4 separate regions of the Homo sapiens genome follow, and regions 1, 2 and 4 are each linked to region 3. Evidence: promoter capture Hi-C in 16 types of primary human blood cells and fetal thymus (Javierre and others, 2016). All regions are on one chromosome and are shown on one strand. Each heading gives the region's core, a stretch centred on a gene start or on the middle of the fragment in contact. The rest is flanking DNA. Distances are from core to core; before and after follow the strand shown.

The links. The method cuts DNA at HindIII sites, captures the fragments that hold promoters and counts their contacts. A CHiCAGO score of 5 or more calls a contact.
Region 1: a contact is called between a fragment that was not itself captured here and the fragment with the promoter of SIPA1L1 in region 3, in 8 of 17 cell types (neutrophils, monocytes, activated CD4 T cells and 5 more). The highest score is 19.0, in neutrophils.
Region 2: a fragment that was not itself captured here is called in contact with the fragment with the promoter of SIPA1L1 in region 3 in 9 of 17 cell types (total B cells, monocytes, activated CD4 T cells and 6 more); the score reaches 11.4 in total B cells.
Region 4: a contact is called between a fragment that was not itself captured here and the fragment with the promoter of SIPA1L1 in region 3, in 7 of 17 cell types (neutrophils, monocytes, total B cells and 4 more). The highest score is 23.8, in neutrophils.

Annotation. Positions count from the first base shown.
Region 1 is chr14:71,620,818-71,627,351 of GRCh38, forward strand. It overlaps SIPA1L1 (signal induced proliferation associated 1 like 1), which reads left to right. Exons shown (of 24, transcript NM_001386936.1): 7 at 3,231-3,419. Among named protein-coding and RNA genes, the nearest start is that of SNORD56B, 230 kb to the left of the region's middle. The HindIII fragment of the contact is 2,323 bases long and covers 460-2,782 here.
Region 2 is chr14:71,599,666-71,606,282 of GRCh38, forward strand. The region is part of intron 5 of SIPA1L1 (signal induced proliferation associated 1 like 1); the gene reads left to right. Among named protein-coding and RNA genes, the nearest start is that of SNORD56B, 200 kb to the left of the region's middle. RefSeq lists an enhancer at 5,797-6,554. The HindIII fragment of the contact is 160 bases long and covers 5,234-5,393 here.
Region 3 is chr14:71,318,155-71,324,975 of GRCh38, forward strand. It overlaps SIPA1L1 (signal induced proliferation associated 1 like 1), which reads left to right and starts at 2,322. Exons shown (of 24, transcript NM_001386936.1): 1 at 2,322-2,349; 2 at 2,968-3,027. SIPA1L1-AS1 (SIPA1L1 antisense RNA 1) reads right to left here and starts at 3,694. Exons shown (of 4, transcript NR_184180.1): 1 at 3,520-3,694. RefSeq lists enhancers at 1,801-1,960, 6,648-6,821 and a silencer at 2,221-3,240. The HindIII fragment of the contact is 21,627 bases long and covers 1-6,821 here.
Region 4 is chr14:71,583,099-71,589,574 of GRCh38, forward strand. SIPA1L1 (signal induced proliferation associated 1 like 1) reads left to right here. Exons shown (of 24, transcript NM_001386936.1): 5 at 4,473-6,272. The coding sequence starts at 4,775. Among named protein-coding and RNA genes, the nearest start is that of SNORD56B, 190 kb to the left of the region's middle. The HindIII fragment of the contact is 6,064 bases long and covers 1-5,434 here.

The sequences.
Region 1 (6,534 bases), core at 371-2,870, 300 kb after region 3:
GAATTCTGTAGTCATAAGATTCTCTTCTTCTCCAGCTAAGCCATTTGAATAAGCTGTGTCCCTTGGGTCTGTTTCCTTAGCCTTTGACTGAAAGGTTCAAGTCAAGTGTTCAAAAAAACCATTACCACTTGTTTTTTACGTTCAAATTAATGTTCACTTTATGACAACTCTATTACTGTATTTTCTCAGGCCAGAAACCATTAAAGCCACACTTTATTCCCATCTTCTCCCTCCTGCCCCTGAGATCTGGTCTGTCAGCAACACTTGTTCATTTTGTCTTCACAATATGCCCAGAGCTCAACTACTTCTCCCACCCTCACTACCCAGTCCTGGTCCTGGTCTTGCTCTGAGAACTGTTCTCCCTGCTTCTATGCTGAAGCCCTGCCTCCTTTTGACCCAACAGGGTTCCTTTGAAATGTCATTCCAGATCTTGCCATTGCTCAGTTCGAAATCCTTGAAAGCTTCCTCATCTCCCTCTGAGAAACAGCCACTGTCTTTGCTAGCCTAGGAGACCATGCTCTTCTGTTTCCCGGTTATCTCTCTGCGCCTCATCCCTGATAACTCCTCCTGGCTCAGTCTTTTCCTGCCACACTGGCCTCCTTCCTACCTGGGCCACCTCAGGACACCTCTGCCTCAGGGCTCAGATGCCCGTCATTCCTCCCCACTGCTGTGTTCTGCATCAGGCTGCCTCATCTCCATTTGGCCTTTACTCAGAAACCACAGAGGCCTTCCTTGACCGCTGAATCTAAAATTTCTATTCCCCTCCCATTTCATATCCAATTCAGTGCTTTATTTTTCATTAATACTTAACACTGTCTTCTCTGTTATACTTAGTCATTTTGTTTGCTTTTAATCTCTCCCACTAGAATGCAGGCCCCAGGAGGGTGGGGGCTTCTGTCCGAGTTGTTCAGTACAACGTGCCCGATTCCTCAAATGGTGCCTTGCCTCCCTGTTTCTCACTTCCCCTCCTTGCCTGTCTCCTTCCATCCCTTTCTCCATGTCTTTCCTCCTTTTCCTCTCTTCCTTTCTTCCTTCCTCCCGCTAATATTTATGTAATTAATTGCCACTAGGTTTTGTATAATTTTTTTCTCTCTAATAATAAATAATCCATAAATTTGATTTAATGGTAATATTGTATTAAGACTTTTGATAGAAATGTTTCCAGATATTGGTTCCTGTCTGTAGCTCCTGCACTTTGAGAGATAGTTCCTTCACTTTTTTCACTGAAGCCCATTTACCTATTACAAATGAAACAAGACTTAATTTGTATCAGGGACTTCTCATGTTACTAATTTCTCATGCAGATAAGAAAAAAGAAAACATGACAGTGACACTCTAGTGGCTTCAGTAAGCGGCAGCAAGATAACAGAAATACAAACAAATCTCTTTCATTTTAGTATAAATAAACATTGCAAAACATAAAAGAAGATATATACCTTTGTAGGCATGGCAGTTTGTTTATGAGCAAAATTTTATGGCATGTGAGTGTTTTTAAGCATAGGAACACGAGGACTTATGAGGACTCCATTCTTATTTCTGGAAGTCATTAAGAAAAATATCAGTAATACTAGTGATTCGGATGTAAAAAATGAGCCATTCTTTTTCTCATCTGCTTTGGCTTTCATGAGTTAGCTGCTTTCTATGGCTCAGGATGCAATGGCTTGAATTTGGTCTTGGCTTCTAAGTTGAGAACACCCCTAGCCTTTGTGGCTCCCTATTTCAAGCTATGTATTATCTCATGAAGAAAACAGTCAAATAACTGAGTTAACGATTTTCCATGATTTAAAAACAAAATAAAAACTATTTGTGTCAAATTATACATTAATAGGAAAATGATTTTTACTTGTTATTTGAAAAGAAATTGTTTATAATGAAAGAAAAAAGGTACTCATTCTAACTACATTCTCTGCCTCCAGTTGCTTCCTCTCACAGTTCATCTTATTTGCAGCTTAATTTCTGAGTATACATCGTCCCCCTACGAACACGTCCTGTGCTGACCTGTAGGAGCCCAGTGAGGCGTGTACCACTCAGTCAGCTTCAGGGTCTTCTGTGCACCCCCAGCTCACAGCTGCCTCATCCATTTCTCCCTGTACTCTCCTTGTGTCCATCTACAATAATCACTCCTTCCCACTTACTCCCTTTTTTCCCAATCTCCATACCTTTGCTCATGTTGTCTCTTGACATTTTCTTTTTGTAGAAATTGTTCCTCTATTTCATGGCCATTTCCTAAAACCCCTCCTTTCAGTGGGGCCTTTCTTTATGCCCTGAGCCACTGTGGTCCATTCTCTGCCTTTGGACTGTCTGAGGTCCTGACCTTGTTATACTTTGTTGGGTATACTTGTCCTTCTGAGATTGCAGTGTGTCTTTCTGACCTCTCACCCTCATATTTGACAATCCTCAACTTGCACTCCTAGCTTTTGTAGCTCCTGTTGCTAAATGGAAATGTATTCAGTTTGATGGGTTTTCTCTTCTTTCCCCATGCAGCAGTTAAATTAGGTTAACAAAACTTTGCCTTGTAGACATTTTTGGAAATTAAGACTACTTTAGGCTTCATGTCTGGTTAACTTTTCTCTGAAAACAACATCATTACGTAGGAAAATGTCTTTGCTTAAGGTATTAATGGAGGGTATTTTAAGAAGGGAAGGTATTTTAAGAAATAAGAGAAAATCTAAAGTAATTTCAGCTGCTATTGCCTGTGCTGCTGTACTGATGGTGATAATTGTCCGGTGGCAGCAGCATTTGGTAATATGAATAGTTTATGCTTGTCAGCCATGCCTTATGAAGCTTAAAACTTTATCTCCCCCTTTTTATAATTCAAAGAAGTATAACATCCAAATTCTAAGTATTTATTCTTCAGACATTGCTCTGGGGTTCTGCCTTCTTAATTTCCTAATTAGTATGCATAGTGACATGGTATAGCCATATAGAGACCTTGATCTTTACTGATCTCTTTAAGGAAATGTTATTTTTTGTCTTTAAATAAATATCCTCAGAAGTCTTGATTATGTGCTCCTTTGGACCCACCCTGGTCTTGAAAGCATTGGTTTCATTTTTCATATTACAGTATCCTACATCACTTTTCTCATTCTTTCTCCCTCACTGGCTTTACCCATCAAAAATCATTCCCTAGCTCTGTGAGGAGCCCCACAGTTCAGGCCTGCAGTGCATGTACATGTGTTCAGGCATCTCACATCCCAGAAGCCTCACCACAGCACCTGTCTCTCTTGCAGCTCATGACACTGAGAGGTTCGGTCCTGGAGGACGCCATTCCGTCGACAGCCAAGCACTCGACAGCCAGAGGCCTGCCTCTCAAAGAAGTGCTGGAGCACGTGGTTCCTGAGCTCAATGTCCAGTGCCTGCGGTTGGCCTTCAACACACCCAAGGTCACAGAGCAGCTCATGAAACTGGATGAACAAGGGGTGAGTTTGCCTTTCTGAGGAGAGCATTCTTGCTCAGGTTTATTGCTAGGCTTCCGGAATACAGACCTTAATGTTTCTTGTTTTGATGGAGATAATTGATACTTTTTATTGTGAAAGACACTCTCTTTGCAATTACTCATTTTGTTTTTTCTTAACTCTGAACTCTGAACATTTCTCATCTGATGAAATTCTGCATGTCAGAATTTATAAATAAGGCACTTTAAACTACGTTAAATTCTTTTGATAATCTTCCATATGTACGGTAAGTTTTTCGAGTGTCCAAGAATAAATAATAGCAGTAATCATAATAATGTTGTGTTAATGACAATACAGTAATAACAGTAATTAATAATAATGAGCATATTTGCAAGCCCCTTTTCTAAGTGCCTTAAATATGTTATCTCATTTAATCTCCCTACACTGTGAGAAAGGTACTATTATTATTCACATTTTAGAGAGAAGGATTCTGGGACACAGAGAGATTAAGTAATAAATCCAATTTCACACAGTTAGTAAGTTTTGGAACCAGGGTGCAAACATAGTCTGCCTCAAAGTCTGTGCCACTTCACCGCGCTGTTCTTAAAAGCTTAGAGTTTCAAAGTCTATTAGTACCACCAAAGATATATTCTAGCCAAGATTTTTAAATATAAAAATGTAAAATTTCACATTCTGCTTAGAGTAATTTGAGCATATGGGCCAATTTTATAGATAATATATTTATATACTCTTACTTTAATTCTTTCTTTTAGCATTTTAGCCATATTGCATCCTAGTAGTGGGTGGTAGTAGTTTTAACATTACATTTAAAAATTACTCCAAAAATAAAATTGGTTCAGGTAGTTTATTTATTTTTTTTCCCCATTATGTTCATTTTTCACAGAAGGGTCCAGCTATTGAATGTCATTTTGTGACCAGATTTGGATAGGATTTCCTTAATCAAAAATTCAAATTTTATTAAAATGAATGAGAGTCCAAAAAATCAGTTTTAAGGTATATTTATTGTTTTAATTCAGCCACTGAGAATATATAATGAAGCAATAGTTAGATGTCTCTTTTCTCTCTTCTCTTTTTTTTTTTTTTTCTGGAGACAGTTTCACTCTGTCACCCAGGCGGAGTGCAGTGGCGCAATCTCAGCTCACTGCAACCTCTGCCTCCCAGGTTCAAGCGATTCTGTTGCCTCAGCCTCTCGAGTAGCTGGGATTACAGGCATGCGCCACTGCGCCTGGCCAGGTGTCTCTTTTCTAATCTTTGCCTTTTTCTATCCATTTCACTTTTCATAATGCACAGCTAATATCTATTTGACACATACATCTGAAGAATGCTGTGAGTATCCATGTTCATAATGTGAAAATTTGTTGCCCTTTGAATTCTTCAAAAGACTACTGACATATAAACGTAACTATTTTGGAGGCTGTTTTCCAGTAATATTCTGAACATTTATTCTAACAAAGGAGTAGAAAAATGATGTTTAGGTCCAACTTTATTGATTCGGTCATTTCTACTACTGTGTTTATCAAGGAGAATAAAAACATTTAGACATTGATAATATAGTCATATACTTAACATTTGAAATTTCTATTAAAACAGATTATTTTATGTAAAGGAGATAGTTATTGCCATTTTCTTTTGTTTTAACTATATTAAATAAAAATGGATACTCTACTTGTAGACATTATGGGGATTTCTGACACATTTTATGTCCTCTGTTAGTGATGCCAAGTGCTGGATCACAGACGGTGCTGATCTGTGATAAATATTTTATAGTCCTATCCACATGGGAAAGATAAGAACACTATAAAGAGTTGAACTCAAAGTTTATTTAATTCACAAAACTGGCCATTATTTTGAAATTATGGCCTTCCTATTCTTGGAAGCATTAAAATGTCCCTTCCTTCATAAATTATTAATCATAATATATGATAGTTGTTTTCTTTAATATCTTTACTAGGCAAAATTAAAATTTGGCAATCAGTCAGTCTCTTCAATTTTACTTTGAAAGTAAGTGCCTTAAATATGTCATCCCGTTCAACAGGAGTATTACTATTAGACAGTAGTTTTTTACTAGACAGTGGAATCTAGAGGTTCAAAGCATGCTATTCTATATGAACAGCTCCATGTCTGGACTAAAGAGCACCGGGGGTTAGCCTCTGTCTTTTTTTTATCTCCATACATACAGCATTCAAAGCCTGGATTGTACTGAGATAAAGCAGACGACATGCATACTTAGGCTTTTAGTCTTGGGAGTAATTTTTTTGGTAGGAAATCTCATTAATGCCTTGGAATTATTTTGAGAAACTGATTATTTTGGTGCCTTTACAAATACAGATTTTAAAAAGGAAATGCTTATAAGTGCAGTGGATTATGCATATGAATCATTGCAAAGCATTTTTAGTTTCCATCTGTGTCGTCATATTTTAAAATTTCCAGCTTTGTGTGTCGTTATATTTAAAGAGATTCATAGTGTGATACAAGGAAACTGGACTCATCAGAAGGAGCTTTAAATCTCTTTTTATATTTGGTTTAAATGATTCTTTTAATATATTTTATGTTTTTATTAACTGTCTTACATAACCATGCTTTGTAAAAGAAGACACAATTTATTTCCTATATTGTGGCATTTTGCCTTTCAAATCTTTGGTGCTTTAATTCCTCATTTTACCACTATCAAAAGCTAAAGTGAACAGAAAAATTAAAATTTTATCTATTAAATATAAAAGAAAGCACTGCACAAAAATCTAATAATTTTTTTATTTAACTTGACAGTGATATATATGTGGGAGCTGAAGTATGCATTTCAATTCCTGAAGAAACTTATTTTAGAAAACGAACTAATTTTTTTAGCTTATCCAAGCTTTTACATTCTCCATCCTGATGCCTTTCTGGGACTTTCACTACTTTTTTTTTTTTTTTTTTTTTTTTTTTTTTTTTTTTTTTTTTTGAGACAGGGTCTCTGTTTCTGTTACCCAGGCTGGAGTGCAGTGGCGCGATCTCGGCTCACTGCAGCCTCTGCCTCCCGGGCTCAAGCAGTTCTTCCACCTCAGCTGGGATTACTGGGATGCACCACCACTCCTGGCTAATTTTTGCATATTTAGTAGAAATGGGGTTTCATCACATT
Region 2 (6,617 bases), core at 4,064-6,563, 280 kb after region 3:
ACTGTGTGGTAATTCTGTTTTTAGTTTTTTTCCATACTGTTTTCCATAGTGGCTGTATTAATCCATCAACAGTGTATGAGTTCCCTTTTCTCTGCATCTTCACCAACATCTGTTGTCTTTTTGTCTTTTTAATAATACCCATTCTAACTGGGATAAGATGATTATCTCATTGTGGTTTTGCTTTGCATTCCTCTGATAATTAGTGATGTTGAGCATTTTTTTTTATATACCTATTGGCCATATGTGTGTATTCTTTTCAGAAATGTTTATTCATACTTGTTTTAATAGGATTATTTGTTTTTTGTTTTTGTTTTACTGTTGAGTTCCTTGTGTATTCTGGATATTAGTCCCTTGTCAGATGAAGAATTTGGAAATATTTTACCCCATTAAACTCATGGTTTCTTCACTCTTTTGATTCTTTCTTATGCTGTACAAAAGCTTTTTACTTTAGTATAGTCCCATATGTCTATTCTTGTTTTCGTTGCCTGTGCTTTTCAGGTCTTAGCCATAAAGTCTTTGCCTAAACCAATGTCCTGGAGCATTTCTCCTTTGCCTTCTTCTAGTAGCCTTATAGTTTCAGGTCATATGTTTATTATGTCTTTAATCCATCTTCAGTTGATTTTGTATATAGCGAGAGACAGGATTGTAGAATTTTCCCAGCACCATTTATTGAAGAGGGGAAGAGGGTGTCCTTTCCCCATTGTGTGTTCTTGACACCTTTGTCAAAAATTAGTTGGCTGTAAATATATGAATTTTTCTGTATTCTGGATTCTGTTCCATTGGTCTTTGTGTCTGTTTTTAGACCAATGCCATGCTGTTTTGATTACTGTAGCATCGTAATATGTTTTAAAGTCAGGTAATATAATGTTTCCAGCTTCATTCTTTTTGCTCTGGATTGTTTCGTCTCTTCTGCCTCTTTTTTGGTTCCATATGAATTTTAGGATGTTTTTTCTATTTCTGCAAAGAATGACATTGATATTTTGAATGAGGATTTGCACTGAATCTGTAAAATGTTGTCATTTTAATGATAATAATTCTTCCAATCAATGGGCATGGGACATGTTTGTGTATTCTTCAATTTCGTTCAACAGTGTTTCGTAGTTTTCCTTATAGAGATCTTTTACAACTTTGGTTTAATTTATTCCTAGGTATTTTTCTTTTCTTGTTTTTTGTTTTTGTTTTTGTTTCTGTTGTAGATGGGATTGCCTTCTTGATTTCTTTCTCAACTAATTCGTTATTGGTGTAAAGGAACACTACTGAATTTTATGTTGATGTTGATTTTGTATAATGCAACTTTATTGAATTTAATGATCCAGATCTAAGATTTTTTTGGTGCAGACTTAAGTTTTTTCTAGATATAAGATTATATCATCAGCATAGAGGGACGGTTTGACTTCATCTTTTCCGATTTAGATGCCTTTTCTTTCTTTCTTTTACCTGATTGCTCTGGCTTGAACTTCCAATACTGTATTGGAGTGGTGAAAGTAGACATCCTTGTCTTGTTCCAATTCTTAGAGGAAAGGATTTCAGCTTTTCCCCATTCATTGTGATGTTAGCTGTGGGTTGGTCATATATGCCCTTTATGATGTTGAGGTCTGTTTCTTCTATGCCTAGTTTGTTGAGAGTTTTTATCATGAAGGGATGCAAAATTTTACCAAACAATTTTATGTGTATTGGGATGGTCATATGGTTTTTGTCCTCCATTCAGTTGATGTGATATGTCATACTTATTGAGTTGCATATTTTGAACCATCTTTGCATCTCTGAGATAAATCCCACTTGGTTATGGTGTATTATTTCTTTGGTGTGTTGTTGGATTCAGTTTGTTCATATTTTGTTGAACATTTTTGCATGTATGTTCATGTGGAATACTGACCTGCAGTTTTCTTTTTTTGTTGTGTCCTTATCTGGTTTTGGTATCAGGGTAATGCTGACCTCATAGAATGAGTTAGGTAGAATTCCATCTTCTTCAGTTTTTTGGAATACTTTGAGGAGAATTTGTATTCTTTATAAGTTTGATAGAATTCAACAGCAAAGCCATTGGGTTCTAGACTCTTCTTTATTGGGAGACTTTTTATTACTGCATGATCTTATAACTTGTTATTGTTTTCTTCAGATTTTCTACGTCTTCTGGATTTGATCTTGATAGGTTGTATGTGTCCAGGAACTCATCCATTTCCTGTACGTTTTTTAGTTTGTTAGTGCCTCTGATCTTTTGTATTTTTGTAGTTATCAGTTGTGATGTCTTTTTTTTCATTTCTGATTTTATTTTGGTCTTCTCCCTTTTTTTTTCTTGGTTATCCTACCAAGTGGTTTATTGATTGTATTTGTCTTTTCAAAAAAAACAACTTTTTATTTTGTAGATTTTTTTCTATTGTGTTTTTAGTCTCTATTTTGTTTAATTCTTCTGTGATCTGTTATTTCTTTCCTTCTACTAATTTTGGATTTGGTTTGTTCTTACTCTTCTAGTTTCTTGAGGTACACCATTAGATTGCTTATTTGAAATCTTTATTTTTGATGTGTTGCTCATTGTTATAAAATTATCACTTAACACTGTTTTTGCCATATCCCATCGGTTTTGTACATTGTTTTTTGGTTTTCATTTGCTTCAAGAAATTTCTTCATTTTCTTTTTAGTTTCTTCTTTGACCCAGTGGTCATTCAGGAGCATATTGTTTAATTTCTATTTATTTTTACAGTTTATAGAGTTTCTCTTATTATTGGTTTCTAGTTTTATTTCATTGTGGTCTCAGGAGATACTTGATATTATTTCAAGTTTTAAAGTTTTGTTGAGACTTATTTGGGTCCTAACATACAGTCTATCTTGGAGAATGTTCTATGTGCTGATGAAAAGAATGTGTATGCTGCAGCTACTGAATGAAATATATTCTGTAAATGTCTGTTATATCCATTTGGTCTAATGTGTAGCTTAAATTCAGTGTTTCTTTATTGATTTTCTGTCTGGATGATCTGTCTAAGGATGAGAGTAGGGTATTGAAGTCTCTAACTCAGGAGTCCCCAACCACTGGTCTGTGGCCTGTTAGGAACCAGGCTGCGCAGCAGGAGGTGAGCAGCAGGTGAGCCAGCATTATCACCTAAGCTCTGCCTCTAGTCAGAACAGCGTCGGCATTAAATTCTCATAGGAGCGCAAATGAACCCTACTGTGAACTGCACATGCGAGGGATCTAGGTTGTGCCCTCCTTATTAGAATCTAATGCCTGTCCCCTGTCCCCACCATCCATGGAAAAATTGTCTTCCATGAAACCTGTTCCTGGTGCCAAAAAGGTTGGGGACCACTGCTCTAACTATAATAGTATTGGAGTCTTTCTCTTTAAATCTAATAATGTTTTGTTTATGTATCTGGGTGCTCTGGTGGTGAGTGCAGATATGTTTAGAATTGTTACATCTTTTTGCTGAGTTGATCTATCTTATATAATGGCCTTCATTGTCTCTTACTTTGTTTGACTTAAAGTCTGTTTTATCTAAGTCTACCTATTCCTGCTCACTTTTGGTTTCCATTTCCATGGAATACCTTTTTTATCCTATTACTGTAGTTTGTATGTTTCTTCAGAGGTAAGATGAGTTTCTTGTGGATATTATATAGTTGGATCATATATATATTTTTTTTCAAATCAGCCGATCTATATCTTTTCTGTGGAAAATGTAATCTATTTACATTCAAGGTTATTATTTATAGGGGGGACATATTTCTGTCACTTTATTAATTGATTTCTAGTTATTTTATATATCGGTTTCTTTCTCATGTTATTTACCACTGTGATTTGGTGGTTTTCTTTTTTTTTCTTTCTTTTGAGACAGATGCTTACTCTGTTATTTAGGCCAGAGTACAGTGGTGTGATCATGGCCTACTGCAGCCTTGAACTCCCAGGCTTTAAGTGATCCTCCCACCTCAGCCTCCTGAATATCTAGGACTACAGGCATGTGCCACCATGCCTTACTAATTAAAAAGAAATATAGCCGGGCATAGTGGCCCACGCCTGTAATCCCAGCACTTTGGGAGGCCGAGGCGGGTGGATCACGAGGTCAGGAGTTCGAGACCAGCCTGGCCAAGATGGTGAGACCCCATCTCTGCTAAAAATACAAAAAAATCAGCCAGGCACGTGCGTGTAATCCCAGCTACTCAGGAGGCTGAGGCAGGAGAATCACTTGAACCTGGGAGGTGGAGGTTGCGGTGAGCCGAGATTGCACCACTGCACTCTAGCCTGGGCAACAGAGCAAGAGCAAGATATATATAAATATATATATATTTATATATCTATATATATTTATATATATTTATATATAGATATATTTATATATATTTATATATATATAAATTTTTTTTTTTTTGAGACAAAGTTTTGCTCTCTCAACCAGACTAGAGTGTAGAGGCCTGATCTCAGCTAACTGCAACCTCTTGCCTCCCAGGCTCAAGTGATCCTCCTGCCTCAGCCCCCTGAGTAGCTGGGACTATGGGCACATGCCACCACGCCTGGCTCACTTTTATATTTTTTTATAGAGATGAGGTTTCACCATGTTGCCCTGGCTGGTCTTGAACTCCTGAGCTCAAGCCATCTGCTCCAGCCTCCCACAGTGCTAGAACAATATAGGTTTGAGCAACTGCACCTGGCCTTAGCTAATTTTTTTAAAAATTTGTTTCTAGGGATGAAGTCTCACTATGTTGCCCAAGCTGGTCTCAAACTACTAGGTTCAAGCATTCTTTCTGCCTCAACCTCCCAGAGTGCTGGGATTACAGGTGGGAGCCACTGCACCTGGCCAAGTTTGGTGGATTTCTGGAGTGGTAACATTTTTGTGTGTTTTCATGTTGGTAGTAGTTATCATTCTTTCACTTCCAGGGCTAGGACTCACTTAAGCATTTTTTTTTAGCACTGAATTTAACACTAAAAAAAGATGAGTTATCTCAGCTTTTGCTTGTCTTGGAAAGACTCTTTTTCCTTCATTTATGAAGGATAACTGCTGAGTATAGTAGCCTTGGCTGACAGGTTTATTTATTTATTTTTTTTCTTTTTTTTCCCCAGCACTTCTAATATATCTTCCCATTCTCTACTGGCTTATAAGTTTTCTGCTTAGAATCCACTGTTAGTCTGATGGGGGTCCCTTTATAAGTGACTACACACTTTTCTCTTGCTATTTTTGTCTTTGGCTTTTGATGGTTTGACCAAAATGTGCTGTGGAGAAGACCCTTTTTTATTGTTTCTGTTTGGGGATCTGTAAGCTTCCTGTATCTGGATATCTAAATCTCTTGCTAGACTTGGAATGTTTTTATCTTATTATTTCATTAAATATATTTTCTAACCCTTTGATTTTCTTTTCACCTTCTGGGACTCTGAAAATTTGAATATTTGATTGCTTTATAATGTCTCATGTCACATAAGCTTTGCATTTTTTTATTCTTTTTTTGCAATTTTTGACTGACTATGTTATTTCAAAAGATCTGTCGTCAAGTACTGAGGTTCTTTTTTTTCTGCTTAATCTAGTCTATTGTTGTTGCTTTCAAATGTATTTTGTATTTCATTCAATGAATTCCTCACTTCTAATATTTCTGTTTGTTTCTTTTTATAATTTCTATCTCTTTGGTAAATTTCTCATTCATATTCTGATATATTTGTGTTGTTTTTCAGTATTTGGTTGTATTTCACTGAGCTTCATTAATCAACATTTTGAATTCTTTTTCTAGGATTTTGTATATTTCTTTTTGTTTGGGATCTGTTGCTGGAGACTTAATTCTATTCCTTTTAAGATGTCATATTTCTTAGTTTTTTCATGGTTTCTATGTCCTTACATTACTATGTACACATCTGATGTAACAGTTGCTTCTTGAAGTTTTTTGAGTTTACTTTCATGGGGACGGACTTTTTCTGAAAATGTATCTGTAGTGCTGATTGGGTAGGGCATTTTGACTTTGATTCTGGGTGCATGTAGTAGTATAGTCTCTGTATAATGTCTTTGTCTGTAAACAGCATAAGTTGTGTCTGTGATTTCCTCAATAACTTAGGGTACAGTTGTTAATGGAGGCTCTGCTGAACTTTTGCTGGTGCCTAGGAGGTGGGCCAATCGTCGAGTCCAGTGGTAGCAGTGTTGGACTGAGTCTGTGTGTGTCTGGGCCTCAGGGCAGCAAACACCAGCACTTGTGCCAGCAGGTCCTGGCAGGTTAATTCTGGGGCTACAGGTAGCTTGCTTGGATACCAGTAATGTTGGCAGTGGGCTGTACAGTTGTTGGAGTCCTGGGCCCTGGGAAGCAGGCATGATAGGGGTGATAGCAGTAACAGTAGTGGGATGACCCTCTGAGTTCTAAGTGGTGTGCACTGGTGTTGGCCATGGCTATGGTGGGCCGAGAAAGCTTGACCTCTGCCTCCTTGATGGCACATGAAACACTGGCTATGGTGGGCAGGGGCTGAGTTATCCCCAGACCCCTGGAAGATTGCTCAGGTGGGGATGGCAGTGGCTGCTCTGTGGCTGTGCTCCTGGGGGTGGCGGGATTGCTTTCAGTAGCAGCAGCCACATGCAGACGGGTGGAAAACATGCCCTTCCCTTGTGCTTCAGCCGCGGTGATGGCAGCCCACAACAAAGGCACCTGCAGGCCGTGAAGTCTGTCTG
Region 3 (6,821 bases), core at 1,072-3,571:
TGAAAATGTGATATTAAACACACCAGTAAATGAATCTGAGGCCCTCCGTCCTTCCCCTCCTCCCTCCCTCCCTTCCTTCCTTCCACAGATCTAGTCTTCGCTCCTTCCTTCCTTCCTTCCTTCCTTCCTTCCTTCCTTCCTTCCTTCCTTTCCTTCCTCCCTCCCTCCCTCTTTCCTTATAGTTATTTTGGGAGTATGGATGTATTTAGTTTGGGTCTTTGGTTTTAATTAGAGTATTTATTAAATAACAAGGAATCTGCTTTGAGTTAGTGTAAAAGCAAATCATGAACTATAGATTACCTTTGAAATTACTGTAACATGGTCAATATTTTTGTTGTTTTTGTAGTTGGGACAAGATAAATTTTAAAATAAAATTGTCAACATTTAAAGAAAATTGTCAACATATAGCTACTCTTTGTGAAACTGACCTACTATAAGATGAAACTTTTTTTATCATTTGCTGTAAAAGGAAGATTTGTTATTTATTGGAAAATTTTATAGGTCTAAGAGCTCTTATATTAAATTATATATATATATATATATATATATATACTCACACATACATATGTGTATATATATTTAGATGCAGGATCTCACTGTGTTGCTCAGGCTGGAGTGCAGTGGTGTGATCAGAGGTCACTGCAGCCTTTAACTCCTGGGCTCAAGTGATTCTCAAGCCTCGGCCTCCTGAATAGCTGGGACTACAGGTGCATGTCAGTATACCTAGCTAATATTTTTTATTTTTGTAGATACAGGGTCTCTCTATGTTGCCCAGGATAGTCTCAAACTCCTGGCTTCAAGCAGTCTTCCCACCTGGGCCTCCCAAAGTGCTGGGATTATGCATGTGAGCCACCATGCCGGCCAGCTATAGAATTTTAAAGCTGTAATAACCTAACATGTGGGGTACCCCCCACAGATGAAGAATCAGAGAGATTAAATAACTTCTCAAGGAGACTCAATTATTAGTGGCACAGAAAAACGTAAACCCTAGTTTGCTGACTTTGTCTAGTATCACTTAGGTTTCTAATACACAAACTTTCATTGACAGGATTTAAACTTGCAAGTGACTTACAAGTTTTGACTGCCTAGTCCTCATATGCTTAGGTTATGCTTTAGGTTTCTAGTTCTGTGGGACTGAGTTAAATAATGGTTTCCCCATGTTCATGGATAGGAATTTTAAAAATTGAGATATAATCCACATACAATGGTATCTATTTTTACTCATTCATTTTGAAATCTAAAGTTTAACTTCTATTCATAATATCCATTTTACTTAGGCAGTGAGTATATAATAACCCTCACCTCAGAAAAGTTTCTACAGTTAAAAGACACGGGCTGAGGAGAGTTCATCTTCATCCTTACTAGCATTTTGGAGTACGTATAAAGGCGTCTGCGGATGCCTAATGATTAAAAAAAAAGTTCCCCTCACCATGGTGAATAGGGTTTTTACGAGAAAAATATGGAGAAAGCAGAGATTATTACCATTGAAAAAGACAAGGTGTTAACAGAAATGGGAGGGTAGCTTGATAGAGTCCAAACTTGACTGAACTCTCTAGGTTAGGGCCAAAGGCAAGTACTGAGGACAGGCATGGACTGTTGCGTTCAACTTGTCAAAAAAGTGGCCAATATGTAGTATGGACCAAGCCTATAGAGGCGCTGAGAATACAGAGATGAATGAGCCAGTTCCTGAAGGAGCCCAGTCTGCGTGTGTTTGCGAGTTGAGAAGAGGAGGAGGGAGGCAGCATGGGGAGTGTGGGGATGGAGGAATTAGATTGAAAGAGAAGGCCGAAAAACTGAATATATAGTAGAAATTTGGGGTGCAGATATGTGCTGCCTAGAAAGGCAGAAACCTGTCCCAGAACCTCTTAATACATTAGTCTCATTTGCCAAATTTGGCCAGATATCATGACTGTGGTCCTCTCGAGATGCCCTCTTGAATCGGCTTAAAAATTATCCTTCCGCAACCACCCCTAGCTTTCCCCACCGCCAGTGCGCCGGGCAGGTTGAAAACTGCACCCACGTTTGCAGCCTCTGCTCTCCGCAGGAGACAGGAATCCAGGGCTTTGCCGTCGTCATAGCAACCAGAAGTTCCGCGGTCCCCTACCCTCCCGCGACTTTTTCCACTTCCTCCGCCTGCAGGGCCCAGCCGCCGCTTCTCTCGCGAGACTTGTGCGCCGCGCTAAGCCGCTCCGTGGTGATCTCACCCGAGACTTGGGGGAGAGGGAGGAGTGAAGGAGGGGAAGGAATGGGGCGGGAGGCGGGGCGGGGAGGGGAAGGGCGAGTGAGGCGCCGCCACTGCCGGCAACTTTGTGAGCGAGTTCAGTGCGTGCGTGAGCGAGTGAGCGAAAAGTCAGTGCAGCGCCGAGTCCCCGGCTGGAGGGTCCCCGGGGAGGGCCAGGTCTGGGCCCCAGAGGCCGCCCCCGCAGCCACTCCATTCCCTCCCGCCTCTGTGGCTCCCTCCCCATTTCCTCCCCCACCGGTCGTTGGGGCCTTCCCGCCCCCGTCCGCACTTACCTGTCCCCTCCCCCATGCGGTACGCACCTCCTCATCCCCCCCCCGGCAACCTCGCGCCCACCTTGGACCTTCGGAGCCCGGACCCCCGCACTTGCTTCCCGTACTGGCCGCCCCCTCAGTTCTTTCTGCTGGCGGGCGGGATGGGGGCGCTGAGCCTCGGGGACGGCGCGAGCGGGGGCCCGGGCGCCTAGACAATAGTTGATGCCCAAGGACGGGGCCACCTCCGCCTTCCCCTCCTCCGGGAGCTCGGCCCCCGCCGGCCCCCCGCCAGCCTGTATTCCGGGTCCCCCTCGGAGCCAGCCTCGGGAATTGGGCTGATTCCACCCCCGCCTCCCTCGGGCCCCCCTCCGCTCCGCGCTCGGCGCCCGCCTCGGGCCGGCCTCGCCGCTCTCCGCAGAGGAGGCGGCGAGTGAGCGCGCGCCGGCCGTCTACACGGTTTCTCTTTCTCCCCAGGGAGAGCGCGCGGCGGACGCGCCCGGGACGCGCGGCGGCACCGGGAGGCCGGGCCGAGCGGTAAGTGGTCCCCGCGCCCGGGTCCTGGGGGGAGCGGGGGTGCAGGACGGCTGACAGCCCCCTGCCCTGTTTCTGGCCGGGGTTGGGGTCCAGGGCCCGGAGCAGGACCCCAGGAGGCCGGTTAAAGTTTGATTTTCGATTTGGTGGCTTGCTGGTAGCTTAGCCCGGCGGGGGCGAGTCCGGCTTCACCGCGCCCGGCGCGCGCGCACGCACCCCAGAACCCGAATCTGCACAACTACTGGGCAGGCGTCTCTGCGGGAGGCCAGGAGACCCGCGTCCCGGTCCGGGCGGTTGCGTCCACCCCGCTGAGCTGGTCGCCACCTGGCGACCCTTCCCCTCCAGTCACCTGGGTGAGCGCTTTGCAGCCTGAGCTGGAGTAGGCAGGCCGAGTTGGTTGAGTTGTGGGAAATGGAGACGAACAGCTCGGTGCCCGAGGGTGGTTAATTTCCCCTTTGGGGGTCTTGGGGACATGAAATTTTGGGATGCTCTAACCTGCTTTCCGGGGAGCGAGTAAACCGCGAAAGGGCTGGGAAGGCGTGAGGGTGCCGCAAAAAGAACTTTTCCTCCTTCGCCCCATCTGTTACCAGCTTCTCTCCTGACCTTAAAGGAAATTTCCGAGGCTCTTAAATCGCTCCACGGCATTTCTAGGTGGACCAGTAATCGTGTTGGGCAGGTTGAAATTTCATCGCGGTTTGGAGAACAGAGAGACATGGGAAATGGCTCACTTCCAAGGAAGATGTTTAGCTAAATTGTTGGCATTCGTTTTCTAAGAGAAGCATTTGGGGATTGATGGCTCCTAGACTACGATTACCTTATAGATTTTATTTTTCCTGACGGGTAGTTTAGAGGCAGCATTCGCTGAAATGCATACTACCTGTGAAACGATCATGTTTCTAAACTGGAGCCAGCGATGTGATGCAAATTTCAGAATAAAGGTGTCGACTTTCATCAGGTTCCAGGTCTATCTGGATGGACTGGGATTGGCGTTTCCTCTATAAAGCAAACCTTTCATGTTGAAACTCTGAGTCAGACTCTTAAAGCCATTGTCTTTATGCTGGTACTCTGTGGGAGTTAAGTGTCAACTTTCTCCTGTTTTCTCCTATGGAGTATCCGTCCAAGGCAAAGATTCTCTGACTGAATCTTTTGGAAACGTGCAAGGTTAGATCATACTGAATTCTGCAGCCAGTTTAGTAATAATATTAGTTTTCTATATAATCCTGATTTAACGACTGTCATTTTTCTCTTCGTTTTTTGAAAGCTGCAATTAAGCTACCTTTACCAGGATTTAAAAAAGAGGATAATATGGAACAGTGGTAATAACAGTAGGTCTCAGCTAATTTATTATGGCCACCGATGTGTCCAACTATTAGATGACATCCCAGTTATTAACTACAATATTAATATTAAAACATTTTTCCCATGGAATCAATTATGCTAAAGCATTAACAATTAACAGTGCATTTAAAATGATGAGTGATTGTTTCCACATAAATGGTTAGAGGCAAAATAAGAGATTTGGGGGATGAATGGCTTTATGTCTCTGACAACTAATTTTCTTATTAATGCTTAAGTAAAGGACTCTTGAAGTTGACTGTCATTTGATTTTTCTAGTTGACTGAGTGAACAAGTTTGGTGAGTGGCTTGAGACAGTCAGTAGGTGTTGCTGTTGTTAGCTTCTCTGCAGTTCCTGCTTCTGCTCCTCGAGTTTGAAATTGCAATTCTGGTACAGTGAACTTTTAAAATCTGAAGTATCAGTCAGTGATAGTTGTGATTTCATTGGAGGAGTCTATGGCAAGGTTGACTTCAACTCCAGGTAATAATTGCAAAGCACCTCTCTGATACTTTGTACTGAGATTCATTTAACTCTTCTTTTGTCTCTGTCCTTACACTAGTATTTTCAGGCTTCTGCATTTGCTTTGCTTTTGCTTTGAAGTATGTGTGTAATTTTGGTATAGTGCCCCCATCTTCATTGTTTAGGAACTTTTAAAAAACACTTTCTAGTGAGTTTATTGAAGTCATAGATTGAAGATTGCTTGAGATTAGCAGTTTTGTAGACTTCGGGGGGATCTTGGTTGAGTTGTGATGTATATATGTTCTATCTTAAGTTGCAATCTGAATTTTTAGATAAATGACTGTTTTTCTTTTTTTAAAAATCTGTTTGAGCTGTGAAATGGGAGCATGAGGAGAGCTGAAATGGTATGAGAGTGGAATTTGATGGAAAGTTTGTCATGATTAATAATGTGACTATGTGCCTCTTATCAGTCCTTACCGTTGTATTATCATTGTTATTGGTCCGTATCAGTGCACAAATGAAGTATGAATATCCTGAAGATTTTTTGTTGACATCTCAGATTTGAGCCTTTTGGTTCACTGACCATATTAGATTTTCTCTATGGAAGACAAATAGACTCATTCCCATAATAAAGAACTAGAGCGCTGATAGAGCACACTTTTTTTTTTCCCCTTTGGATCAAATCATGGAAGTTCAAATCTGAAAATAAATTCAGAAATTTCTTTTTTTCCCCATAGCATCCCTATATTCCTAACCTTTTGAGTGGTGAGTCAAGCAATATTTATTGAATGCTGCTATCTGGCAGGTGCACTTTTGGTTTCTGTGATTACAGTGATGAGCAAGAGTGTACCTGGCCACATGGAACTTGTAGTCCAGTGGGACCATTTGTAGTAATATTTTCTGGCATGGAGTTATGGTACCCTGATGCCCTCGTAAAGGTTATACATAATAGGCAATTATTTTTGAATTTTAATATATTTTAACATTTTGAAATAATGTAACCTAGAATTTGTCCTCAGAAGGTCTGGGTTTCAAATACCTGCCCTGCCATTTTCGTTGTGAGATATTGAAAAATAATTGAACTTCTTTCTGAACTTTACTGTTGTTTCCTGCGGAGATGGGCTCAAGACTTGCTTCACAGATGAGCTACAAAAATTGATGAGAATACATGTATGAAAGTACTTTGTAAACTATAAAGTCTTATTTGTAATAGGGTTTTCTTACTTTTTGTTGGACAGATTCATGGATTGTTGGAACTAGGAGGGATTTTGACTCATTTGGCTCATGTTTCCCATTTTACGTATGAGGAAACTGAAGCCCAGAAAGTTGAAGTGATTTGTTGAAGGTTATAGAACTGGTTAATGACTAGGCAGTGATTGGAAGACAGGTGTCCATATTTAATTGCACTCGTTTCTTTTCTTTTTTTCCTACCTTAGAGCCTGTTATGTTAAAATTTTACTACTTTCTCCCCCCACTTAAGAGTTCAGTATTTATTAAATATCCAAAATGAGGAGATGCAAAACTTAAGGAAACGAACGATCTGTGGTGAGGTTGTAAAGCTATGAAAACAACATTGGTAACCGAGCTTCATAATTAAATGACAAAGTTACAGAAAAAGAAAATATGAGTTAAAGTTTCTACATAGTAGAGCCTGTAGGCTTTTTTGTTTTGTTTCATTTTTAAAGAAATCTTTATTTGCACAGAGCATAATGTACTCTTTAGCTCTTTAGAAAAGCTAAACTCAGTTTATTTTGGTTCATCTTTTTCTTCTCTTTTTAAACTCATTTCCATTTGCGGAAGAAATTAGGTGTACCATCCTTGTTTCTGGACCATGGCCAACTAAATTTTAGACCTTTTTTCTCAGCGACATGTAAGGGTAACCAGAGATTGGGGCTGGGGGTGTTAGGTGGAGAGATAAAACAGGACATAAAACAGGAACGTGTAGGAGCTTCCTGTTGAAAATGGGACTGATTTATGTTGCGCCACCCTACCTTCCAGTGGA
Region 4 (6,476 bases), core at 1,153-3,652, 270 kb after region 3:
TAAGAATATTTACAGGCATTCTAAGTCTGTGTTTACAAGTTCAAAAACTATTTCTATTTTTTTGTTGTTTGTTTAAGAGCCTGGGTATTACCATGTTACCTAGGCTGGTCTCAAATTCTTGGGCTCAAGCCATCTGCCTGCCTTGGCCTTCTAAAGTGCTGGGATTACAGGCACAAGGCACTGTGCTGGGCCTGGAAATTTTCATAAATACTTCTGAAGTGTATATCTCTGAATTATTGGGGCATTTGAATAGTTATTCATCAGCACAGTTCCTTCTACTGCCCTGAAACATTGAGAGCTGGCGTTGTATTTTAGGCTGTACCAGTTAAAGAATCTGAGAAGATCTCATTTTGGAATGTGGAAGTATTTTATGAGGAACGCTACATCTTTCTGGTGACCCTACCATATTGCACTGTAATTCTTTCACAACAGGAACTGTAGTGTTCCCCCAACCCCACCCCCTTCCCACATCTTCTTCTTGTAACCTTTAAACTGCTCTTTATGCCCTTGGCACGATGTTGTTTCTTTCATTCTATTCCTTGAATTAGGAATAGAATGTGCTCCCTTCCTTACCACTTAATCATTTCTTGAAAAAAAATTTTTTTCATTATTCTGCTTGTTGGTTATTTCATTGTAAAATAGGTAAATAAAGAAGATGTCAAATGAGCACCTACCTCTATTTTATCTGAAGTTTAGTGGAGAAGATCATGACCAGAGATTTGGAGGTAACAGCATAGAGATGATATTTAAAGCTGCAGGCACCTACAGTATCAACAGACAGAGTACTGGTTGCCATGCAGATTTCCAGCCAGTAACTTAATTATTCTGCCTTTGTTCAGCTGCACAGACAAATGTGAGCCAGCCCAATCAACACTCTGCTTTCCACAGTGATATTATTACTCCAGTGGACCCATGCTTCTGTCTCATCCTAATACACTCAGTGCTCACATGCATCCTGATAGAAATACCTTTTATACCCCTTTCCAGAAATATGAAAAATGTCAAGAGAGATAAACCATAGACACCACCTTTTCAATGGACCCCAACTAAAGACTGAGTAGTGGGCAAAAAGAGGCAAGAGAAAATGAAGAAGCACATGGTTATCACAGAGGTCCAGAAAAGAGAGGTTCAGGATGGAGGATGGGTTCAGGAGTACAGATGCTTCACAGAGCCAGAATGACAAGGGATTTTTGGCAATCAAGAGATCCCATAAGAGGTTCTGCTTTCAGCATTCTCAGGGACTTGATATTCTAAATGGCTGACCTACTGTGGTACAATTAGTCCCAGCAGGAGATTGTAAGCTCTGTTATTAAAGAGCTTACAATCAAAATGGAAAGTGTATAGGAAGGAGGCATGACCCATGCATCCCCCGTCATCTTCTTACTTGTCTGTGTCTCCCTGCTACACCTGGAGCTTTCCTTGAAGGAGGGACTGGTGGATGTATGGTCCATGCTCTGAAGACACTACAGAAACACAGGGGGTGATTTGGATGAGAGGAGGAAGCATTTCTTCTGGAAGAATGGTGGGTTAGGTTGTGAGAGATCTTGAGTGATGAAAAGACTTTCAACTAGTTGAATTGAACTCATTGAACTAAACTGTGGGCCCTCTAGATGGAATTAGTATTCTAGCTACCTGGATCTACCATAGACTTAGATAGTATCTAGAGCTGTAAAATTAAACATGTAATAAGGAAAATTTTTATATAGCCTGCTCTTTCAACAGATGGAGGTGACATGCTGTGAATTCGTATTGCTCTTCTGTTTAATTCTATTGCTTTTTACCATATTGGTACTTAGGCAGGTTTGCTGATATTTAAGAGAGTTGCTGATCATTGTCAACATAGGTTTGCTGTTTCAGTCAACCCTAAGGAATAGATGTGAAGGTATTATTGATCTGTCATCATATGATACACATCGATGGACAGCATTATTTTTGACTGGTAGTTTAATAAGTGCAAAGCATGTATATTTCCATATATGCTAGTCAGTGCCCAAAGTTTATATTGTACCCCAAAGGGGTTTGATGCTATAAATAAGAATGAGAAAAGGGAGGGAGGGAGGGAGGGAGATGGAAAATGAGAGGGAGAAAAAAAAAACATAGAAAAGGAAGGTCCTTATGACTGAAAAAAAATCTGTTATTTAACATAATTGCCCATCTCGAACCTCATCAGTTTTTACAAGCCATTAAAACGTGGCTTCTCTCTCTCCCATGTGCTTATTTATATTTTGAAATGAAAAGAAAACATTGAGTCGTTGTTATATAATGTAATGGGAGTCTTGAAATTTCTTTTGAATTGGTAAGAAATTTTTATATTTAAAAATAAGATTTTATAAACTCATTAAAAATATTGGAAGTATATGAGATGGTTTGGAAGAGAAATACTGATGGTGGAGACTGAGCATTTCCAAGTCAGTTTTATTTCTTGTATTTTACTGCCAGCTTTTAGTTTCCTCCTCTAATGGAAATAACTTCACATATCCTGGGAAAGACAGCTGTGCAGTAAAGTATTTTCTAAGGCACATGAAATGTGGCAAGAGTTTTTATCATGGTGGGATTGGTGTGTTGTCCTTTTAGAGAATGAATGTTTGGGGAATGAAAGATGATTTATTTGGATTTCTGTGAGGTTGTGAGAAATGTTGAAAGCATCTAATTTTTATAAAATCTACTTTAGAAGTATTATTTATGCTATGTAGAGTATTCATTGAAATAATCAGCTTTTGGGGAGATGTTGAACAGGTGTTTGCATTTTGGTTCAGTTGTTCAATTTTCCTTCCATTTTATGAGAATCACTTCTTGAACCTTTGCTATGGCCATATATGCTGTCCTTTGATATCCTCGGAAGCAACAGTTAGCATGTTTTGTCACTTGAAGGGTTATCATTGAAAGAGGAACATGTAAAGTTCTGGAATGTAAAGGGAATAATAGCAGTCTGACAGTAGAAGTATCTAGAAAGCTCAAAAGCCATGTTTAATTAGGTAGCAGTGCAAAACTATTATCCCTTTTACAAAAGATGGTGAAGAGGAGTGCTAGTGAAAACAAATGGCATTTATCTGAATGGCTCCACAGACTCAGCCAGCACGAGCCCAGCCAGAGCTCGCCTCACCCTGCATTCTGCAGGCAGCATGCATTTTTTTTTTTTTTTTTTGAAACACCCCTACATGTTCCAGCCTTTAAATAGCAGCGAGTCTTCTAAAGTGATGCTGTGTGCTGCAAGAGAAATGAAAGCGCCTGCCTTGGAGGCAGGAAGCCGACTAGGGAGATGCTTAATTATCGTGGAAGTAGGTGCTTGTTACCATTGAGTGGAGAGTGCAGCAAGTGCAGGTCGTCCTCCGGTGTCAGAGCCGTGATTTGTAGACAATGCCGCCCTGTCAGCTCAGTGCTGGTTCAGCAGCATCTTTCCAAACATGTATTTGGCAAGAATTTAAAGGCCACCTCTTGTGTAATTTGTGGAGTCTTGGAAAAGGAGCCTCTGCCTTTCTTTTCAGAATGTACGCAACCATGCAGAATTTTGTACTCAGAATCTGTGTCTCCTGCCTTCTGCCTGACGTGCTCATGAGGAAGTTTGTTTCCATGCCCGTCACCTGGAAGGATGCTAACAGTTCTCTGTAATCTGTTGGGGATATGGAGAGGGCCACCCAGAGCTGTGTTTTGTTTCTGCCGTCTTCATAAATTAGCACTGATGGGGTGGAGTAGGTTGTACTGCATGAGGAAATGCAGGCATTTTGTTCATTAGTGAGATACTTCTAGCTTTTAAGAGTACAAGAAACTAAGGAGAGCTTGGGAAGAGGTGGTGGTGAATGCTGGATTCATTCTGCAATATCCTCGTCTCGGTAAGTAATAAAGTAGAGGAAAATACAAAAGAGTGCTAATGGATATAATGGCTCTGGGAAAACTCTTTTTATTTATTTTTTCCTGCTGTATTTGTTTTTGCCAACTATGTTAAGCCTTTGTAAGGAAACAAAAAACATGTATTGATTTTGGAATAGAGGAGTTAAAAAGTGATTGTTGCAGCATATTCAGTAAAGTCATTTTTCAGTTTTTACTTTTGTCAAAAAACTCTGTTGCTCTAATTATCTTATTCACTTGGTTACATCTCAAACTTCTGGTCATCACAGTAGCTCATGATGTTCTACATTTTTAGAGGTCATTGGAGCAAAAGTCTGTACTTTGGGTAGGAGCCATGATATCCAGAACAAGATGTACCCCTCCCCCTGCCCCCCATTTTATGAAACAGTTCAATTAAGATGAAGTCTTAATAGTTTTTTTTTTTAGAATATAAATTATGGATTTTATCAAATGGTTTTTACTTTCTTCCTTTCTTTCAAACCTGCTTTACTAAAAATACGGATTGTGGAACTGTGAATCCTAATCCATTATTGAGTCTTTTATCTTCATGTGTCTGGTTTTGACAATTGCATGTTTGTTTTTAGATGTATTTATCTGCTAATTCAAATTATCCTTTTCTCTTTTAGAGAAAGCATGGGATTATGGCAACCACAGAATCTCAGTAGTACAAGTTCCATTCAGTTTTTTCTGAAAGAAAGCCCTCTGTTAAAGTGAAGCAAAGAAACTGTTGTGGATTATAACGTTTAGAAGTTCCAATTTTTCAGTGCTTTACAAATAAAGCATCATTTAACCTTTTAAATGAAAAAGATTAAGATCTCATGCAACTGTTGTATTTTCTGGAAGCCATTCTCCAAAAGGGAAGTGCACATTTAAAACACAGATATGATGGTCCTTGCTGCAGGGATTTAAGTCTACTTGCTTTTACATCATGACCAGCTTGAAACGGTCACAGACAGAAAGGCCTCTTGCCACTGACAGGGCCTCTGTTGTTGGCACAGACGGCACCCCCAAAGTCCACACTGATGATTTCTACATGCGGCGCTTCCGGTCCCAAAATGGCAGCTTAGGATCATCAGTTATGGCTCCTGTAGGACCCCCCCGAAGTGAAGGTTCTCACCATATAACCTCAACCCCCGGAGTCCCAAAAATGGGGGTAAGGGCAAGGATTGCAGATTGGCCCCCAAGAAAGGAAAACATAAAAGAATCTAGCCGTTCAAGCCAGGAAATAGAAACCTCAAGTTGCCTTGATAGCCTGTCCTCCAAAAGCAGTCCTGTGAGTCAGGGAAGTTCTGTTAGCCTCAATTCCAATGACTCAGCCATGCTGAAAAGCATACAGAACACGCTGAAAAACAAGACAAGACCGTCGGAGAACATGGACTCCAGATTTCTCATGCCTGAAGCCTACCCCAGCTCCCCCAGAAAAGCTCTTCGCAGAATACGCCAGCGAAGCAACAGTGATATCACCATAAGTGAACTTGATGTGGATAGCTTTGATGAATGTATCTCACCTACATACAAGACTGGACCATCACTGCACAGGGAATATGGTAGCACATCTTCAATTGATAAACAGGGAACATCTGGAGAAAGCTTTTTTGATTTGTTAAAGGGCTACAAAGATGACAAATCTGATCGAGGTCCAACTCCAACCAAGCTCAGTGACTTTCTCATTACTGGTGGTGGCAAGGGTTCTGGTTTCTCTTTGGATGTAATAGACGGGCCTATCTCACAGAGAGAGAACCTCAGGCTTTTTAAGGAAAGGGAAAAACCACTCAAGCGACGTTCAAAATCTGAAACTGGAGACTCATCTATTTTTCGTAAATTGCGCAATGCCAAAGGTGAAGAACTTGGGAAGTCATCAGATCTTGAAGATAACCGATCAGAAGACTCTGTCAGGCCCTGGACATGTCCAAAGTGCTTTGCCCACTATGATGTCCAGAGTATATTATTTGATTTGAATGAGGCAATTATGAACAGGCACAATGTTATTAAGAGGAGAAACACCACCACTGGAGCTTCCGCAGCTGCCGTGGCATCCTTGGTCTCTGGACCTCTGTCTCATTCAGCCAGTTTTAGCTCCCCAATGGGCAGCACAGAGGACCTGAATTCCAAAGGAAGCCTCAGCATGGACCAGGGAGATGATAAAAGCAATGAGCTTGTAATGAGCTGTCCATATTTTCGGAATGAGATAGGTGGAGAAGGGGAGAGGAAAATCAGCCTTTCAAAATCAAATTCTGGCTCCTTTAGTGGATGTGAAAGTGCCTCCTTTGAGTCTACCCTTAGTTCCCATTGCACAAATGCAGGAGTGGCAGTACTTGAAGTGCCCAAGGAGAACTTGGTGTTGCACCTAGATAGAGTGAAAAGATACATCGTGGAACACGTAGATCTGGGTGCATACTATTATAGAAAATTTTTCTACCAGAAGGGTAAGTAGAGATCCTTTATTTCTTACATTTTCTTTTGCAGTACTTTCTGAAGAAAAGTACTGTATATTAAGATATTTATTAACAATGTGACATAAGATTTGCATGTCTTATCTTTCTTGATGGTAAAATAGCTAAATAACCATTTGCTCAATTTATTTCTTTTTGCATTTTTTGAGTTACTTTCTCCTTTCAGATATATAAATG